Regions from separate parts of the Homo sapiens genome. Here region 2 is linked to region 1. Evidence: promoter capture Hi-C in 16 types of primary human blood cells and fetal thymus (Javierre and others, 2016). All regions are on one chromosome and are shown on one strand. Each heading gives the region's core, a stretch centred on a gene start or on the middle of the fragment in contact. The rest is flanking DNA. Distances are from core to core; before and after follow the strand shown. Region 1 holds the start of ME1 (malic enzyme 1). Region 2 overlaps IBTK (inhibitor of Bruton tyrosine kinase).

The links. Contacts are between HindIII fragments. The CHiCAGO score rates a contact against its expected background, and 5 or more counts as called.
Region 2: a fragment that was not itself captured here is called in contact with the fragment with the promoter of ME1 in region 1 in 1 of 17 cell types (M0 macrophages); the score reaches 5.0 in M0 macrophages.

The regions. Positions count from the first base shown.
Region 1 is chr6:83,429,411-83,432,920 of GRCh38, reverse strand. It overlaps ME1 (malic enzyme 1), which reads left to right and starts at 1,870. Exons shown (of 14, transcript NM_002395.6): 1 at 1,870-2,044. The coding sequence starts at 1,967. RefSeq lists enhancers at 455-1,654, 1,597-1,766, 2,387-2,656 and a silencer at 1,977-2,166. The HindIII fragment of the contact is 4,994 bases long and covers 493-3,510 here.
Region 2 is chr6:82,226,648-82,230,157 of GRCh38, reverse strand. IBTK (inhibitor of Bruton tyrosine kinase) reads left to right here. Exons shown (of 29, transcript NM_015525.4): 5 at 2,856-2,966. Among named protein-coding and RNA genes, the nearest start is that of IBTK, 19 kb to the left of the region's middle. RefSeq lists a silencer at 2,089-2,289. The HindIII fragment of the contact is 2,775 bases long and covers 438-3,212 here.

The sequences.
Region 1 (3,510 bases), core at 621-3,120:
CTACTGGCAGGATATTGTAATCCCCTTGTAATGTTGCCTTTGAGGGAGAGGCCATATACTCTTTGTGGGTTACTCCCTGTACTTATAACACTTTTCCTATCTGTAGATATTAAATCTCAGAAACAGGAACAGGTAGGTAGTATATCTAAATTCATGTAATAAGTACTTTATTATAATAAGGGTCTGTTGTACTAACATTTTTGTTTCTTCTTAAGCAGCTTGAATTGGCTCCCATGCCAGCTGTTAAACTGTTTCCTCTCACATAAAACACCCTAACTGTAATGTGTCTCAGTTAATTCAGGAGAGTGAGTTGTGTAAAGTACACCTTTTTCTTAGATGTTGTAGGATTGAGTATTTATGGAGTATAGAATTAACAATGAAAGGTGTCATTTAACTTCAAGGATTTTTTTCAAAAAGAACTTTGTGATGCCTAGAAAATATTCTCTATAAAAACAACGAATTCTAGATAATTCAGGCGAGGTCAAAGAAGCTTCTAAATGTAAATACGGACAAAATACAATTACTGTAAGAAATCTTTCTGATAAGGCAAAGTTAACATAACTAGAAATGAAAACACTGTGATTGGATGTGTGTCTAGTATATGGAGATATAAAATCAGCAAATAATCTCAAACACTATCCTTTGTAATATCAGTATGCAGAGACAAATGGGACAGAAACTAGCAATCCTATTTAACTGAAAAGGAAACTGGGGCACAGAAGGCTTTAGTGTCTGTTGCTATTAATTTATTTTTATCAGACAGGCACTCCTTTTGGCTATGATCTGACTATTCCTCCAGTCCATGAACCTCCAAGCATAAATATCAATAAAACAATAAAAAAATGGCCCGGCGCGGTGGCTCACACCTATAATCCCAGCACTTTGGAAGGCGGAGGCGGGCGGATCACCTGAGGTTGGGAGGAAGGCCTGAAAGACTGCTTACTCATCATTATTCAGAGAGAGCAGTGGTTCTTGAACATCAGGTTTCTAGAACTCCCAGAGAAATAATATACAAGATAAACAGGACTGTTCATTGGGCCTTTGCACCCTAACACCTTGACTCTTATCTTATTGACATTCAAATACAATTCCGGTGGAAAATCTGTAGAAACTGACAGGTGTGGCGCCTGAGCTCTCCTCTCTGGGCTTCCTCCCAGTTCCCTTGGGCCTCGGCATTCTGGGTCAAGGTTGGTTCCCTCCGGCCTCAGGGCCCCGGGCATGGCCGGCATCCTGGATGGCACGGCGAAGGTTGTGGATCTGTAGAAAGAGGGCTTCCAAGACGCTAACAAGACAGGAGAGACGAGTCTGATTCTCCTCAGCCTGTCGAGGTGTTCTGTCAACAGTTCTGGGGACCCCTCACGAGTCCTTCCGTCCTGTAATCCCCCTAGGTGTCTGAGCGACCGCCGGCTCTGCCTGAACCGCTCAGGTTCGCACCTTCTGGCATCTTCTCGCACTTTCTCCAGCCTTCCCGGGCAGGGGGATCCTGGCCTGACGCTCCCCGCTCCCTGCCCCCGCCCTGGGTCTCTGGGGTCAGCAGAGCCACCCAGTGCACTGCGTTTAGGCATGCCCACATGGAGAGAGGCGACCACAGCGGTGATCATAAGCCCATGGTGGGCAGAGGCCCTATGGAGCCAAGGGCTCCGGCCGCCACCCCCGCTCCGCCACCAGCAGCGCTGCCAGGACTCGCTCTTCCTCCTCCTCCTCACACGCCGGCTCGGATGATCTCCTGCCATGACTCAGCGCTTCTCGCAGGCTGCCCTGCTGGGGACACCGGCTTCGCTCGGGCCCCTCCCGACGCGTCCACCCCCTCTCGCCACCCACGCCCGCCCCCAGCCGCTGGGCCTTTCCCAGTGCGGCCGCCGCCGCCACAGCTGCAGTCAGCACCGTCACCCCAGCAGCATCCGCCGCCTGCACCGCGCGTGCGGCCCGCCCCGGCCTGACCCCGCCGCCGAACCCGGCGCCAGCCATGGAGCCCGAAGCCCCCCGTCGCCGCCACACCCATCAGCGCGGCTACCTGCTGACACGGAACCCTCACCTCAACAAGGTAAACCCGCAGGCCCACCTGGCCGCCCATCGGCCCCTCTCTATCAGGGTCAGGGCCCTCTTGCAGGTCCCCGCACCATGGCCTCGCCCCTCCGCCGCTCCCCTGGGAAGGTTCCCGGTGAGCGGCCGCGGCCTGGGGGGCCTTGGTGTGGGCAGAAGGAAGAAGGACGCCTAATCGGGTCCGTATCCACTAGAGTGATGGCAGGGCAGTGCTGGTGCCTCTGCACCTCGGCATCCCATGTTAGGGATAGAGGTAAAGGTAAAGGTTAGTGATAGAGGAAAAGGTGATACTTTTCGGCAGCTCTTCTCCAAAAACAAGAGCCCAGACAATGAAAGTAGTATCAGACAAAGTGTGTGAATGGAGTGCCAGGTCAGACTCCATGTGCCACTCACTTACTGGTTGCACACACAGTGTGGCAATTATTGGAAGTTGATAAGGCGAGAAGTGGCTCAACTGGTCCTGCCCAGACAGAAACGTGTACTGAGTGCCTTCAGATCACGTTAGCAATCTGGAAATCCAAGTCCTCTCGGTTTCTGGAGTGACACGGTTAAGAGTCTGGGAATGCGTGGTGGGTGGCCTCTGTCTTGGACACTTTGCATGGCTTGGTAGAAGAACTCTGTCCCAGACATGGGACTGTGGGTAAAGCCATTTCTTTTCTTTCTTTCTTTTGTTTTGTTTTGTTTTGTTTTGTTTTTAATTTGGCTTTCTGGAAGTTAAAAAAAAATTTTGTTTAGAGCTGCTCTCTTTTTATTAAAGGGGAATTCAGTGTACACCCTGTTCAGAGACTCCTTTTCGGATCCTGGTAACATTTCATTTTCCTTCACTGGTGATGCAATATAAGCACTCGGGATGTCTCTCAAATAAAAAATACCTCCGAATTTATCATTTTGCTTCCACACTTATTTTACAGCCAGGTTTGTCTCGGGATTGTTCCTTTTGTGTGTGTGTGTGCGTGCGCTTTGGACATTTCCTATTTATTCAGGAGTCTGAAAATGCCATCAGTCAGCACAGAGGTTTGTTTAGTTATTTTGGTTGTCTCTTTGGTGGACTGCATTTCACATTAAGAACAGAAGCTCAGCTTTTTCCTTGTCGTGTTCCTGATGATTTGTTGATCATATTAATGACTTAAAGACATGATTTATTTAACAAGTTATAGTCAGTGTGAGTGATTTTTTTTGTGTGTGTGGTGACAGGCACCTTTTACAAATCTATGACTGTGTGCTATCTGCCGTCATGTAGCATTATTAAATTGTAAATAATTCCAACTTATTTCTTTCTTTAAAATAAATTTAATTGCTAGTTTGATTGTTTTTTCTTTTCTTTTATTATTCTGCAGGTTTGCCACCTATTTTCAGTAGAACAAAAGTAAAATTTGATGTGACAAAACTATTTGTGACTTGTATGTGTCACCTGCCTACTGTAATTTATGACCAAGTTGTGGGTTGACACTTAAGAAGGACCACATG
Region 2 (3,510 bases), core at 576-3,075, 1.2 Mb after region 1:
TATCCTGAGATTGAATTCTTAGACAGTTTTTAGAGCTACTTTGACAACATATCCCTAGTTTGCCCAGGACAGTTCTGGTTTATGATTATTTTCCTAGTGTAATTGTTAGTATCCCCTTTCATTCTCAAAAATGTTTGCATGATAAATAATATGACCACTATATTTAGGGCTCCATAGAACACTATTTTTTAAACTAAAAGTCACAACCTAATGCATCACAACCAGCAATTGAACAAAAAAAGCAATAGAATCCTTAAACTCTAGAGAATATTAAATTTTGAGAGAACAGGAATAAAAACCCATATAGGAATGAAAAGTGGCTAGAGAAGTAGGGAGTAGAATGGTGTCATGAAAGCTAATATTCTTGTGGGTCTTCTCTGTAGATGTGGAGGGAACTTAGGATAATGAAAGGACTTGTGATGGGCGAGAATCAAGCTTGGTGTCCAAGTCTTTAGTGAATGTGAGAGGGGTGAGCAAGATGGTGAGAAATCAGAGCAGGGGCAGCAAGTGTACAAGCTGCTCACCTAGTCTAGAGCTTTTTGCAGACATGCTAGTCAGTTTTTTTTTTCTCATGCTGAGCTTGAGTGGGTCCTCAGACTCCTCCTTAAAATGATAATCCAACCATTAGCAGCCACTAATGATTGATTGGAATTGTGGCACAAGAAAGACACCTGTTTTTCCTTTTTTGAGGTAGTACATGATATACCTTTATTTCATGAGCTGTTACGGAGCAGGGATTTTAAAGACAAGAGTGAGGGAATCATGATGGCATTAGGAAATCAGAGGGTGATTGAAATGTCTGATCCAAAGAAATATATAGTTTGGAATATTTGAGCATATTCCATTTGCCAGGGTTGTGAGTGAACTAGTGTACTCAAAGAGAAAGCCACATTTCAGGTAAGGCAAGGCAGTGGGCGTGTTTTGTGAAGGTATTAAGGATCTAAGGGATTTTATTTACCACAGAATGAGGGTGAAGCAAGCACAGTGGGTAGGTTTGAAGGAAAGAAATCAGTATAAATTTCAGTCAGGGAAGAGAAAGCAAGTATGGGAATATTAATTGAGTACCAGTTATATAGAGAGCCCCATTTGTTATTGAAAAGGGGCTGATTCTATATTATACAGTACCAAATTAATTAACTACCATGAGACAGAGATTATTAATGTTAGTATTATATATTCCAGATAATTAAAAGCGAAAATCCATGCTCAGTTCTTATTTAAAAATTCAGGGGTTTTAGGCTGGGCGCAGTGGCTCATACCTGTAATCCCAGCACTTTGGGAGGCTGAGGCGGGCAGATCACGAGGTCAGGAGATCGAGACCATCCTGGCTAACACAGTGAAACCCCATCTCTACCAAAAATATAAAAAATTAGCCAGGCGTGGTGGCGGGCACCTGTAGTCCCAGCTACTCGGGAGGCTGAGGCAGGAGAATAGCGTGAACCCGGGAGGCAGAGCTTGCAGTGAACCGAGATGGCGCCACTGCACTCCAGCCTGGGTGACAGAGCGAGACTCCGTCTCAAAAAAAAAAAAAAAGTCTGGGGTTTTTAAAGTTGGATAACTTAAAACTGTCTAGTATTGCAACTGTTGTTTAGTAGTAGAAGTCAGCAGTTGTAGGATGGCATTCTAATATTTAATATAAAATTGAATGAAATGTATTCTTTCTTATTTCATAAAATGAATTTCACTGACAACTTGTAAATTTAAAATACAAATTTGGATTTTATTTTTAAACTTTTTAGGTATTTGTGGTACAGCTAAATGAGATAATAATCTTTGCATTACTTTTTTTATTTGATAGCTATATTGTGCTTACAAAATTCCGAGCGGTCTAGGGTATGTGTAAATATTTAGAGCTTGTCTAGCTTATAATTTTTTTGTTTTCCAAAGGACCTTGACTTTCTGGAAATGATTTTAGGGTTTCTTTATTTCTTACTCATCTTTTTATATCCTAAGTTAGAAATATTTGCAGATGTTGTAAGAAATATAAATGCAAACAATCTTTAAAAATGAGAAGATTTTAAAAATATTATTAAGGTAAAGTGAGTATAATGAATATCAGAGCTTGGAAAATAGCAAAATGTGGCCCAGGGTTAGATATGTAAATATATATATATTTGAAACTGCTGATGGTTTCCTGTTATTGTGTTCTGCTGAGGCAGTTCAACTGTTTCAGTATCTTTGTCTTCTGTAGTATGTGAATAGTAAGTCTGTGTATCAGGGGCAAGGGAGTGTACTGAGATTGAGGCAGATAAGGAAAAAGGAAGTGGGAAAGGAGAGAAAAACTTGAAAATAAATATAAAATTATTTATTAAAATAATTATAAATGTATATTAAAGACATGTTGATAAAACCAAAGATAAAGAAAAGGACATACTGCCCCCTACGCCATGTATAAATGGCTTTATTGTTTTTTGAAAACACTCTGAAGATGTTTCTATTATTTTTATTAGTACCATATATCACTATTTGGTAATCTTTATGCTTCCTGTTGCACTTTGCTCATTTCTTACTGTTTGATATTTCATGAAACTGGAAAACAACTGGCTACTAATTTTTGGAATTGAAGGTTTAAAATTATATTTTCCTTTGGGTAATCTCTTCTGTGGGTAACACATGCTTAATTCTTTCTTTGTTCTTTTTTTTCGTGTCAATGTTTTTAGACATAATTTTAAAACAAAGCATATGTATCTTTTATTTTTATTACAGGAAACTTAAAATGTGGAAATTAAAGTCTTATAAATTCCCCTTGTATCCATTATCCTGTTTAAACAATTAACAATATTCTATTTCTTTTTCATAAAATAAAGGATATTTTATTCAGAGAAGTTTAATAATATTCTCTTGTTTTCCCTTAGGTGGTGCTTTGTAAATTTCACTCCGTGTTTCTGTCTCAGAAAGGGCAGGTTTATACCTGTGGTCATGGTCCTGGAGGGCGATTAGGACATGGAGATGAACAGACATGCTTGGTAATTGAAATGTCATTACACTATTTAGGTAACTTTAGAAAAATGCTGATAAGCTGAAAGATTTAATTAACTAAATTTTTTTTTCAACTGTAAGGACGAAATAATACATCAATTGATAATAGATTTTAAAAAATCTGTTTCCTGATATATCATGTTTAAATTAAGGATTTACATACAATGCAAAAGGATTAAAAAAAGTAATACTTTGCTTATAGCAAATACTGAGTCAGGAGCGTTACATAAGCTTTAAAATGTTTCTAGAGTTGAAATAGAAGAAGGCAGACTAGGCCGGGCGCAGTGGCTCACGCCTGTAATCCCAGCACTTTGGGAGGCTGAAGCAGGCGGATCACCTGAGGTCGGGAGTTCGAGACCGGCCTGGCCAACATGGAGAAACCCTGTCTCTATTAAAAATACAAAATTAGCTGGGCATGGTGGTACATGTCTGTAATCCCAGCTACTTGGAAGACTGAGGCAGGAGAATTGCTTGAACCTGGGAGGCGGAGGTTGCGGTGAGCCGAGATTGTGCCATTGCACTCCAGCCTGG